Linked DNA regions of Homo sapiens: region 1 is linked to region 2. Evidence: promoter capture Hi-C in 16 types of primary human blood cells and fetal thymus (Javierre and others, 2016). All regions are on one chromosome and are shown on one strand. The core of a region is centred on a gene start or on the middle of the fragment in contact, and the rest is flanking DNA. Distances in the headings are between cores, read along the strand shown.

Region 1 (6,560 bases), core at 4-2,503, 140 kb after region 2:
CCCTGCCCTCTGTACCCTCAAATGCACTCACCCCCAAGACCTGAGGAGGGTAGACCCTCCCTCTACAGGCAGCACTCACCATCTGCACGCTCCACTGGTGTGTGATGGGCCCCTCGCTGGGAGGCTGTGGCACCCCAACCACAGCCTCCAGGGTGGGTATGTTGTGGTCGTGGATGGAAGGCTGGATCCTCACCTGGCACAGAGGACAAGGGATGCAGAGCCCTGAATGCCAGCCACCCCAGCTGCCCCCCAGACCCTGTGTGCCCTTGCACGCCTCTTCCAGTCCTCATTGGCTGAGTCCCCAGGGCCCTTGTCGGTTAGGCAGTGTCCAGTGACTGGGCATGGCCAGCTTCCGTCCTCAGGGCCTTGCAGTGTGGCTTCCATGCTCTTCCAGCTTTCTCCGCCCAGCACACTCTCACACACCCTGCAAGGGCCTGCTCTAATATTATCTCTGAAGGCTTCGCTGACTCCCCAAGGACAGGGCAGCTCCCCCTCCTGGGCTCCCACAGTGTGCTCTGCGTCCCCAGCAGGACGGCAAAGGATCTGCTTGGATGTCTGCATCTCCACTAGACCATGAACTCCCTGAGGACAGGAGCCATTCTTACTCCACCTCCAATCCCCTACTGCTTGACACAGTGCCTAGTGTGGTGGCTCACACCTGTAATCCCAGCACTTTGGGAGGCTGAGGTGGGCAGATCACTTGAGGTCAGGAGTTTGAGACCAGCCTGACCAAGATGGTGAAACCCCGTCTCTACTAAAAATACAAAAATTAGCCAGGTGTGGTGGCACAATCCTACAGTGCTGGGTACTCTGGAGGCTGAGGCAGGAGAATTACTTAAACCCAGGAGGTGAAGGTTGCAGTGAGCCGAGATCATGCCACTGCACTCCAACCTGGGCGACAGAGTGAGACTCCGTCTCAAAAAAAAAAAAAAATTTCTGAGCACCTTTTATTAAAAAAAGAACTACCTGTGTTAAGGCTGGGAGACTCAGATATGTGTAAGAAAGTGACACAGAAGTGGCACTAACAATGTCTCAGGAAGCAGGGAAATGTATCAAATTAGAAGGATTCTATCATTTATTCATTCAACGAACATTTGTGGACACTTGAAATACCAGTTAAATTAAAAAGGCCAAATGTCAGGGGCAGTATTTGAATTTGACTGTGAAAGATGGACAGGATTTTTTTTTTTTTTTTAGACAGAATATCACTCTGTCACCCAGGCTGGAGTGCGATGGCACGATCACAGCTCGCTGCAACCTTCACCTTCCAGGTTCAAGCGATTCTCCTGCCTCAGCCTCCCCAGTAGCTGGGACTACAGGCACACACCACCACACCTAGCTAATTTTTGTATTTTTAGTAGAGATGGGGTTTCATCATGTTGGCCAGGCTGGTCTTGAACTCCTGACCTCAGGTGATCTGCCCACCTGGGCCTCCCAAAGTGCTGGGGTTACAGGTGTGAGCCACCGCGCCTGACCAGATGGACAGGATTTTAACAGATGAAGGTGGGAGAGGGCATCCAAGAAGAGACATGTGGGGAGCCAGGATGGCACCAGGTGAGAGGGATGTGGCTGGAAGGAGGGTGCCTGGGAAGGAGAACAGGAGCTGAGGCTGGAAAGGAAGCCCAAGATCACACTATGGGGCCTGGAAGGCTTGAGAGTGAGGAGTTGGAGCAGCATCAAGGAGGCAGTGGGAAGTCACAGAAGGTGGCAGAGGAAGAGAGTGGCTCCAGGGAGGTCCATCCCCTGCAGGCATGAGCTGGAAAGAGGCTGGGAGAGGCGGGTCATGGCCCATGTTGGGAGCCTCTCTCAATAGTCCAGTTGCAAGAAGGTGAGGAATTGGGTCTGGGCGGTAGCAGAAAAAGGACACAGACAACCAGACTCCAGCAGGCAGTGGGACAAAGCAGGAGGAAGGAGAAATTCACCCAGACACGTTAAGTTTTCCTTGAGAAAGAGATGGTGCTTTCAAAAGATTCCACGCAAGCCAGAGGAGATGCTGGCTTAGGGGAAGACAGCAAATTTGGTTTAGAATATGTTGAGACCAGGCCAGGCACAGTGGCTCACGCCTGTAATCTCAGCACTTTGGGAGGCCGAGGTGGGCGGATCACCTGAGGTCAGGAGTTTGAGACCAGCCTGGCCAACATGATGAAACCCTCTCTCTACTAAAAATACAAACATTAGCCTGGCGTGGTGGTGGGCGCCTGTAATCTCAGCTACTCAGAAGGCTGAAGCAGGAGAATTGCTTGAATCCAGGAGGCGGAGGTTGCAGTGAGCTGAGATTACGCCACTGCACTCCAACCTGGGTGACAGAGCAAGACTCTACCTCAAAAAAAAAAAAAAAAAGAAAAGAAAAAAGAAAAGGTAAAAATAAAGCACCAGGCACAGAACCTGGGTTTGGAGACTGGGCAGGATGCCAGCACCTAGCTAAATACCTAACTTAGAATAGGCCAGGTGTGGTGGCTCATGCCTGTAGTCCTAGTACTTTGGGAGGCTGAGGTGGGTAGATCACTTGAAGTCAGGAGTTCCAGACCAGCCTGGCCTACAGGGCAAAACTCCGCCTCTACAAAAAATACAAAAGTTAGCTGGGCATAGGGCCGGGTGCGGTGGCTCATGCCTGTAATCCCAGCACTTTGAGAGGCCACGAGGGGGGAAGATCACGAGGTCAGGAGTTCAAGACCAGCCTGGCCAACATGGTAAAACCCCATCTCTACTAAAAATACAAAAATTAGCCGGGCATGGTGGCACATGCCTGTAATCCCAGCTACTTGGGAGGCTGAGGTAGGAGAATGGCTTGAACTCAGGAGGCGGAGGTTGCAGTGAGCTGAGACCGTGCCACTGCACTCCAGCCTGGGTGACAGAGTGAGACTCCGTCTCAAAAAAAAAAAAAAAAATTAGCTGGGCATGGTGGTGGATGCCTGTAATCTCAGCTACTTGGGAGGCTGAGACAGGAGAATTGCTTGAACTTGGGAGGCAGAGTTTGCAGTGAGCCGAGATTGCACCACTGCACTCAAGCCTGGGTAACAAACAGAGCAAAGAATAGTAGCTCATTCAGTGTTGTTATGAAAAAGCAGGTTCTCTCTCAGCATCCTCCTTGCTCTCAAGTCCTGTGATTCTTGAAATAATGCATCCAGTGGCAGAAAGGAGTTAGCATATGCTGCTGCTGGAAGCCTGTAAGTGGAGGCTGTGACACTCTAGAGAAAGGATTATTGAACAGTTGGATGGCTAGGATGAGTACTGTGTCTACTTGGTGCCTGCATCCTCAGTCCCCGGGATAAAGAATGAATGTGTGACCTATAAGGACCTTCCACATTGGGATTCATACCTGGTACATGTGCTTGACTTGGTGGATCTTGGGGCCTTTGGGGGTGAAACTGACATAGAGTGTGGAGTCTTCTTGGCTGCGGAGAGAGAAGGGCAGCGATGGAAGAACGAAGTGACAGCAACCCGGGCTCCAGGAAGCTTCTGAGCGCCCAGCCACTGTGCTAGGAACGGCACAGATACCATCTCATTCAATCCCTACCACAACCTGCTCTTTCCCAGAAACTAAGGCTCCTGGACAGGGCCAGCCTCTTGTCCAAAGCTTCTCCACAGTGGAGAGACAGGACTGGAGCCCAGGGAAGTGTGTCCAGTGGAGGCTATGTCCTCCCCACTGCGCGCCACCTCACCAGTGTCTCCACTGTCCTCTGGGCCCTGCTCATCTCCTAGATAATCGTATCCACTGCTGATGCCCCTCGCACCCATCCTTCCAACACACACTGCTGGGTGACCTTCCCAACATCACTCTCTAGTCCTGCCACTCACCTGCTCAGCATTGGCCAACGGCCCCCTACTGCGAGGGAGGGTCAGGTCCAAAGCCTCCCATGTCCAGGCAGTCTCCTCACTGCTCCCCTGCACACACCTGCCCTTGGCTAATCCTGCCCAATCCCTGTCCCCCAGGTATGCCCCACTGCTTCCTCCCTCCTTGCCTTTGTCTGGGCCATGGTCTCTGATGAGGACATCTAGGTTCCTTTTTAGCTCTTCCCCTAATGGCCTCATCCTCCAGACCCCAGTCCAAGCCGCACTTTCTCCACGAACTCTTCCATTTCTCCCCCAACCCACACTCATCTTTCCTGGCTCTAATTTCATGTCAGTATCATACTGTGTGGCATTGATGTTCAAAAGCACTGGAGGCCAGGCGCGGTGGCTTACGCCTGTAATCCCAGCACTTCAGGAGGCTGAGGCAGGTAGATCACCTGAGTTCAGGAGTTTAAGACCTGCCTGGCCAACATGGCGAAACCCTGTCTCTACTAAGAATACAAAAATTAGCTGGGCATGGTGGCAGGCACCTGTAGTCCCAGCTACTCGGGAGGCTGAGGCAGGAGAATTGCTTGAACCCTGGAGGAGGAGGTTGCAGTGAGCCGAGATTGTGCAACTGCACTCCAGCCTGGGCAACAGAGCGAGACTCTGTCTCTTAAAAAATAAAAAAAATTTAAAAAGCACTAGAGACCTGAGCTCAGACACTGTCCCCGTCCTTCTCTGTCCTTCTGTAACTGAGCCAACTGGAAAAAGCCACTCGATTTTGAGTTTCCTTTTTTTTTTTTTTCACACAGGGTCTCACTCTGTCACTCAGGCTGGAGGGCAGTGGCATGATCTCGGCTCACTGCAACCTCCTCCACCCGGGTTCAAGCAATTGTCCTGCCTCAGCCTCCTGAGTAGCTGGGATTATAGGTGCCTGCCACAACGCCGAGCTAATTTTTGTATTTTTAGTAGAGACAAGGTTTCACCATGTTGGCCAGGCTGGTCTTGAACTACTGACCTCAAGTGATCCACCCACCTTGGCCTCCCAAATTACTAGGATTACAGGTGTGAGCCACCACACCTGGCCAAGTTTCCTTTTCTATAAGCGAGAAGACCTGTAACAGGTTTTTTTGAAATAGCAAAAAACGGACATAACTCCCTCCATTTTTGTTGAAGAGGCCTTTACCCATTCCTGCCCATAGGCTAGGATAATTTTAGAGCACTGAGATAACATGCAAAAACAGCTATCATGTAGTTTTTAAAACTAAGTCTGGCATTAAAGGGGACGTTTGTAAACAACTAACTATGTTTTGTTAAAGATTTATAGAAGCACTGTGACCTGACCAAGGACCAAGAAGTTCCCAACCTCCTTGTATCCTCTCTGGTGCCCAGATGTCTGTGCTAAGTTACCTCTTGATCTTAACCCCTTTCTCTTCCCCCTACCCTTAACATTACAGATGGTCCTTTAGAACACTAGTTCACTGTCTTCTCAATTGCCTGGCTTTCCAGATAAACCTGCCTTTCCTCCCACCAACTCTTGCTTCTTAAGTCTGGCTTTCAAGTAACAAGCAGCCAGACCAGAGTTCAGTTACAAACCCAACTAGCGATCCCCATGGTTCCTTCCTGCTACTGTGTTCTGAGAGTCACTGACTCTGTGTGTGCATGAGTTTGGGCTCTCCCACTTGACTGTAAGCTCCCTGAGGGCAAGGGGTATTGTGATAACTTTTCTCCTATCTCTCCTGGCATTATCGGCCCCCAGGAGGGGAGAGAATCTAGGGTGACTGAAACAGTCAGGAGCTTGGCTGGGCCTTTGGAGTCAGACAGGCTGAAGCTCAGACCCTGGCTTTAGTACTTCCAGCTATTGGACCTTGGGTAAGTGCCGGCCTTCTCTGAGCCTCAGCTTGTTCATTGGTAAAATGGAGAGCGGCACAGCTGCCTCACAGAGGTGCTGAGGGCTCCAGGCAATGTCAGCAACTGCGCAGTGCAGCTGGCCCTCAGTCTGACATAAAATTAGTGTTCAATGAGCTTTTTCTTCCATCAGTAAATGCTAATCCTTCCCTGAGCTCTTCCATGGCCCTCACATTTTGGAATGTTGAAAACTTTTGGGGTTGTGGCTGGAATCAGTTCTAATTACCCCAAGGGGCTCTAAGAAAGGAAGGAGGTTCAGAAGGAGAGCCCCAGGAGCAAAGTCGGGGCCCTGGGTTGGGAGGCTGCGGTGGGAGGAGAGGGTTGGCTGTCTGCTGGGAAGAACTTACTCCTGGATGAGGATGTTGATGGGGTACAGGATGGGGATGATGGTAGTGGCTGAGTTGTCCTCCAGGAGGTCTGAGTCCTCATTGTTACTGCATTGGGGCAAGGAAGAGGCCAGTGTTAGGAGAAGGGCTTGGCCAGGTCTGAGACCATGGCAGGGATGTGGGCGGGGCCTGCTCACCAGGTCACATTGGCGTGCAATTCAACCGAGTCCCCCCAGGAGCTGTTTACCAGTGTATTAAACATCATCTGCAGAGCAACCTGGCAGGAAAGGAGAGGGCAATGGAAATGGAAGGGTCATGAGGAGCAGCCTCATGGCCCCCACATCTAATCACCATCATCTCAGGGACCCCTTATCAAGTGCTCACTGCACCCCAAGCACTGAGCTAGGATTCTACCCATTGCAAAGATGAGGCAACCAAGGCTCCAGACGGTTAAGTTATGTCTATAAGGTCACAAAATGAATAACCCAATCCCAGCTTTGCCTGATTCTAAAGTCCAGGCTCTCAAACATGACACAGAACAGATTCACATAC
Region 2 (5,785 bases), core at 1,127-3,626:
CTTCTGTAGCTTCTCAAATTAAGGTCTAGGTGTTTGCTTGCTGGCTATTTCTTTTCTGCTGGACTGCCACCACCTCGAGGAAGGGCAGGAACCACAATTAATTTACGACCCAACTATATTCCTTTGACGCCTCTCTGAATTATCAAAACGTTTGAAGTAGACACAGAACCAGGCAAAAGGAGGTGCACCTGACTGTAGACAGGCCTTCGTCAGACCCGGATGAGTAAGGGCTCAAATTTGCCCTGCTTGCCTCTTTGCCCTTAGAAACTGGGGTCTCTGTTTACAAGGGGCAGTGGCGTTGCTGATGAAAAACGGGGCTGTGGGAAATACATTCTGCCTAAAGAGTTTTAAGGGACAACCTCACCTCTTTTCTTCTCCGCTTATTGGGCCATTTTCGGGCCCGATCCCCAGGGGGCCGGCCAGGCTCTCGATCAGAGCTGTCCCCTGGCTCCCCGGTGGCCCCACTGGAGCCCCCCCTTTTCCGCTTCCCAGAATGCTTCAGCCGATGTTCCAGTCGCTCTGGGGGCTGAAGAGATGCATCCTTCTGTGGAGGAGGAGGTGGGGCTGAGATAGATGGAAAAGGGCAAGCTCCCAACCCCTCTAGGGGTGACCAGGTTGCCGAAGTACCCCTCGGGCCGGGAAACCGGGTCCCCAGAGACGAGCTCTACCTCCTCCCACCCCAGGGCGGGGCAGAGGCCTGGCCAGAGGAGCCGGTTGCTCTGGTTTGGGGTGCCAGCATTCCCCCCTCAACTCCACCCACTAGGGGCACTGCCCCCTCCTTGCTGCCCCTCGGAAACCCCCAAAGTCTCCTAGCCCCATTAGGCCCCACCTGCAAGGCCTCGAGGGTGGCGAAGCTGGCGATGGCGAAGCCATCGATCAAGTCCTCCTCCTCCTCTTCCTCCTCCTCAGGCTCCTCCTCGGCTTCGCCGTCGTCTGCGCCCCCCTCCTCCTCCTCCTCCTCCTCTTCCTCCCCGCGGCTGCCCGAGCCGGCAGGCCGCTTCCGAGCTCGGGGTCGCGGGGGTCGAGGTCTCGGACGGGGCCGCCGGCGTCTCGGGCCCCCAGGCCGCTCTCCAGACGAAGCTGACGACCAAGGCCTGGCGGGCGGCGGCGGCGACGACGAGGACGAGGAGCCGCGCGGGGCGGCCAACAGGGCCCGGGGCGCGTCGCCGCCTGGACCTCGGCGGCGCCGCTGCTCCCGGTCTCGGTCTCGGCGCGAGCAGCGCCGCCGTCGGCGCTCCCCCTCTGCTGCCCAGCCCGGACCCGGGGCCGCGGCCGCTGCCGTCTCCATGGCGACCGCCCTCAGCGCCGCATCCGGAGGCGGCGGGGCCCGAAGCGGCCTGTCCGCAGGCCCGGGGTCGCAGGCGCGGCGCTGGCGGCTGCACAGTGACGAGAGGGCCACGGCTTCTCCTTTAAAGCCGGATCTGCTGGCCCCGAGCTTGCCCCAAGGCCACGGCCCGGGGAGCCGGCGCCGCCCCCGGGGCGACAAGCCCGAGGGCCCCCCCTGCGGGCTCGGCGGGGCCGCGACGGCGAAAACGGGGCGGCCGTCCCTTTAAGGCGAGGCCCCAAGTTGTCCAGCTCCCGGCCCCTTTAAGACGACCCGACAGTGTCCGGCGGCCTAGTGCGGTGGCCACCCCCTGCCAGGGGTCGATGCAAGTCTCCCCGAGGAAGAGGAAGGGCCACCCCTTTAAAAGGGGCCGAAAGCTCGCCCCGAAACGCAGACCTCCCCTTTAAAAGTGTCTCAAGTCCTCCGGCTCAAAGAGGCCACCCCTTTAAGGAGTCCAGGGTCCTTCTAACAGCAGGCCGTCCCTTTAAGGGCTCGGAGTTAGTTTCTAGTCCTCCACAAGCGGCCACTTCCCCTTTAAGTTGAATTTAAAAGACTTCTTGTGTGTGGGGGAGGAGGACGTAAAGAAAAACCCCACTCGCCCCAGTTCTCCCAACGGCACAGTTCTCAATTTGTCAGCGTCTGCTCGGCGGCTTCCCCTTTAAGGCTGGCGTTGCAGTCCGCCGAGTTCAGTGGCCACCCCTTTAAGGAGATTTAAAGGGGCCTCCTCCGGGCCCAGCTCCTCCAGCCTCCGCCTCCGGTCGCCATGAAAGGCGCGAGGCGGGGCGGGGCAGCGAGGCCAGCCCTCCAAAGCCCCGGATGTGAGGCAACGGTGACGGGTACAGCTCCCCTGTCCGCCGACATAAAAGTCTCTTCCTCCTTTCCTCCGTCTCTGTCCGACTTGGGCCTTAGGGGATCCGGAACGGCCGATGGGCAGCGGGGGAGCTCCAGCACAAACTCCTGTTGTCTCCTTTGGAGTCTTAGGGCGCTTCTCCGCCAGGACTTCCCTACCCCTCCTCCCTCTTCCTCCTCAGCCTACGCCTCCTTCCTCTCTCGGCCTCCTCCCACGCTCCGCCCCCTTCCCCTCACCCCCAACGGGCGCAGTCGTTGATAGGCTGGGAGGGCTACGTCAAGGTGAGGGGCGGAGCCAAACCCGAGGGAGTGGGTGCATGTAACCGCCCTCAAATCTTGGATTGGGTTACGTCGGATTGGCTCCGCCCTTCCCCCCAGTCTTGTGACTCGACTGGTTAGAAGTAGGTGTTTGGGGCGGTTACTACAGGGCCCCGCCTCTTCCTGCTGTTTGTTTATTGGCCGGTCTCCTGATGGCGTCGAGGCGAGGGGCGGAGACGCGGGGCCTGAGGCGTTGGGGGCGGTTGGCCGCCGGGGGGCGCGCGGCTGCAAGAGGTTCCGTTCCACAGCCAGTTAAGTCATCGCCGCCTTTCCGCCGCTCGGCGCGGCCCACAGACAGCCTGGCGTCTCGCGCACGCGCGTGGCGGCGCCGCCGTCAGGCTGGCTGCTTGCGAGTCGTTCCGCGGCCCGGGGTGGCCCGAGCGGCCGCGTGCTGTGCCTGCGCCTGCGCCGGCCGCACTAACAGGCAGCCGCGTCCCTTCCAGGCGCGGCTGCTGGCAGCGGTCCCGAGTGCTAGCAATTCGAAAACGCCTTGCACCTGCATGAGCGCTTCTCCGCGTTTGTGACTGCGTTTGGTAATAATTCCATGAAGGAGATGCTGTCAGCCCCATTTTACTGGGACGGAAAGGAATGCGCGCACAGACGGGCTGGTAGTCTCCTAGCCACGTCTATGTCAGCCACTGCCCTGTGATGCCTCTCAGTTATGAAAGATGCACCCCACTGCTCAATGTGACTGGCTTAAAAAAAAAGAGACAGCCATTTCTGGCCTTCGGTTGCCCGGGTTACCGTTTTAAAAGTGGACAGCGCGCTGACATGCCTGCCTTGCTTTCTCGTCCATAAAATGACTAATTCCCTGTCGCAGGGACATGTGCAGGTCAAGCACCTATGACAGTCGTCGTGAGTGCTTCATTATGGCCCATTACTCTTAGCTCTTTGTTTTGTTTTGTTTTTTTGGGGGGGACAGAGTCTGGCTGTGTTCCCTAAGCTGGAGTGCAGTGGTGCGATCTCAGCTCATTACAACCTCTGCCTCTCGGGTTCAAGTGAATTCTCCTGGCTCAGCCTCCTGAGTAGCTGGGATTACAGGTACACACCAAGACACCCAGCTAATATTTGTATTTTTAGTGGAGACGGGGTTTCACCATGTTGGCCAAGCTGGTCTCGAACTCCTAGGCTCCTGTGATCCACCTGCCTCGGCCTCCCAAAGCGCTGGGATTACAGGCGTAAGCCACCGCACCTGGCCTAGCCGTAGCTCTTGAATCCAGCAGCAGGTCCTGGCCTGCATGTTAGCAGGAATTCAGGGCCATCTTGATCTTCAAGGCCTTGACCCACTATAGGCCTTTCAGTCTCCTTGATATAAATGAATTGGGAGAACCCAGACCACGGTCTAGGGTCACAGTATCATCTGGCACTGATTCAGAAGTGTCCCTCCACACAGGAGAATCCTCTAAGCAAGAGAGTATCTCTAGGCCGGGCATGGTGGCTCATGCCTGTAATCCCAGCACTTAGGGAGGCCAAAGCAGGCGGATTTCCTGAGGTCAGATGTTCAAGACCATCCTGGCCAACATGGTGAAGCCCAGTTTCTACTAAAAATACAAAAATTAGCGGGTGTGGTAGCGCACGCCTGTAATCCCAGATACTTGGGAGGCTGAGGCAGGAGAATCGCTTGAATGAGGGAGACAGAGGTTGCAGTGAGCCAAGATCGTGCCATTGTACTCCAGCCTGAGTGACATGAGCGGAACTCCATCTATATCTATCATCTATCTATCTATCTATCTATCTATCTATCTATCTATCTATCTCAAGTGACCACTTCACCCCCTCCCTGTACTCTGTACCCAACCCCTGTCACCATCTCTAGCACCAGCCCCAGTTCCCAGACCTTTGGGGGTCAACGTAGAAACATCAGCCAAATCAATCTTAAACTCAGCTAGAGATACAAAAGAATCAGAAACATATCGAAAACTTTACTAGAAATATAGAGAAAAAAAAATAACTGCCTGGGAGGTTTCCTGTCCCTTCAGGATGGATGACCAACAGATGGGGCACCTAGGTCCAGTGGGGCTGCTCCCGATCTACTGTTTCTTCCTCCAGGAGCAAGGCATCTAGCTCCTCCAGCCGCTGCTGGAGCAGGGGGCCCACATCAGGGCTGGGGGCCACATTGGGAGGAACAGTCCTGCCCCCTGCAGCCCGGACCCCACGGGACGGTCTTCGTGATCGAGGAAGGCTGCTGTCCCGAAATTCCACAGCCCGCCGGAGCTTCCTTGAGCTGGTGAAAATCAGAGTCCCATTGCGCTCCCGGGGTTCCTCAAAGATGGTCTCAAAGGTCCTGAACAAGGCAGGGAGAGGAGCTGGTTTTATCAGGGTGCTCCACAGCTCCAGATTTCCCTCTGCCACCCTCTAGCCTTCCAAGTGTCTCACCTCCTGGTTGTGGGTGATTGGTAATTCTTGTTGGTGTAAATTTCTTCCAAGCTGAACTCCTTCTTGTTCAACCTGTGAGCAAAGAGCAGAGGCCACTGAGAAACCTTGGGCCAGTGGGGCCTGAAGGGACAGGTAAGGCCTGGTCTGTATTTCAGTTTCTGGGACATGTCAGGGCCAGGAGTGCTACATAAGGCAGACAGGCAATTTTGAGCACAAACCATCCCCACACCGAATTGAATCTTTCAGGCTGGACTGTGCTCCCTGAGGGGAGACAAAGCTATACTTCAGGGGACATAAGCCTGCATCTGTTTGGCCAAGATGGCTCAATGCCCAGTGAGCCCCTCACCTGATTGGTCGAGGCAGTCCCATTGGTGTAAGGTTTAGCTGAGGACGGGCTGGTGTTCTGCGTATTCTGAATCGAGAAACCTTTCCCATGGTCTGCAAAAATGGGGCAGAGGGTGAAAGAGTGACATGGGCTCAGGCCCCCACTAGTCTCTTCTACCCGATCTGAATGCCTACCTTGGTCTCAGGTTCTGAAAGCACCTGGTCCTTTGAGGCTCTTGGCTCCTTCCCTTTGGTTGAACCCAACCTGCCAAGAAGGTCAAGGCTCAGGGACAAACAGGATTCACTGCATTATCCCCCGTCTCCTGCCCACTGGATACTCAGGGAAGGAGGCTGGGACCAGGCTGCAGCCAGGCTTCAAGGGGGTTTTTTGAGAGCACTACCTGGGTTCTGCTGGTTCGGAGAAGGAAGTGGATGCCGTGGACGAGCAAGATGTGGTGAGAGAAGGGGAGGCTCCCACTCCTCCGAGAGGGAAGACCTCTTTCCGGAGACAGGGCCGAGGGGGTGGCGGGGCTCGGGCCATTTCCCCACCACCCACAGTGTGCCGCCGCGGCCGTGGTCGGCTTGGTTGGGGTG

Evidence for each region. The method cuts DNA at HindIII sites, captures the fragments that hold promoters and counts their contacts. A CHiCAGO score of 5 or more calls a contact.
Region 1: a contact is called between a fragment that was not itself captured here and the fragment with the promoter of FBRS in region 2, in 1 of 17 cell types (monocytes). The highest score is 5.2, in monocytes.

Annotation. Positions count from the first base shown.
Region 1 is chr16:30,510,606-30,517,165 of GRCh38, reverse strand. ITGAL (integrin subunit alpha L) reads right to left here. Exons shown (of 31, transcript NM_002209.3): 23 at 6,206-6,285; 24 at 6,030-6,116; 25 at 3,320-3,395; 26 at 80-193. Among named protein-coding and RNA genes, the nearest start is that of MIR4518, 10 kb to the right of the region's middle. The HindIII fragment of the contact is 4,411 bases long and covers 1-3,458 here.
Region 2 is chr16:30,655,022-30,660,806 of GRCh38, reverse strand. It overlaps FBRS (fibrosin), which reads right to left and starts at 2,376. Exons shown (of 18, transcript NM_001105079.3): 1 at 830-2,376; 2 at 365-544. The coding sequence starts at 1,288. PRR14 (proline rich 14) reads right to left here. Exons shown (of 12, transcript NM_024031.5): 8 at 5,593-5,785; 9 at 5,387-5,456; 10 at 5,214-5,305; 11 at 4,868-4,939; 12 at 4,394-4,775. The coding sequence ends at 4,496. RefSeq lists silencers at 1,191-1,240, 1,311-1,540, 2,361-2,540, 2,591-2,670, 2,701-2,960 and an enhancer at 1,661-2,110. The HindIII fragment of the contact is 16,259 bases long and covers 1-5,785 here.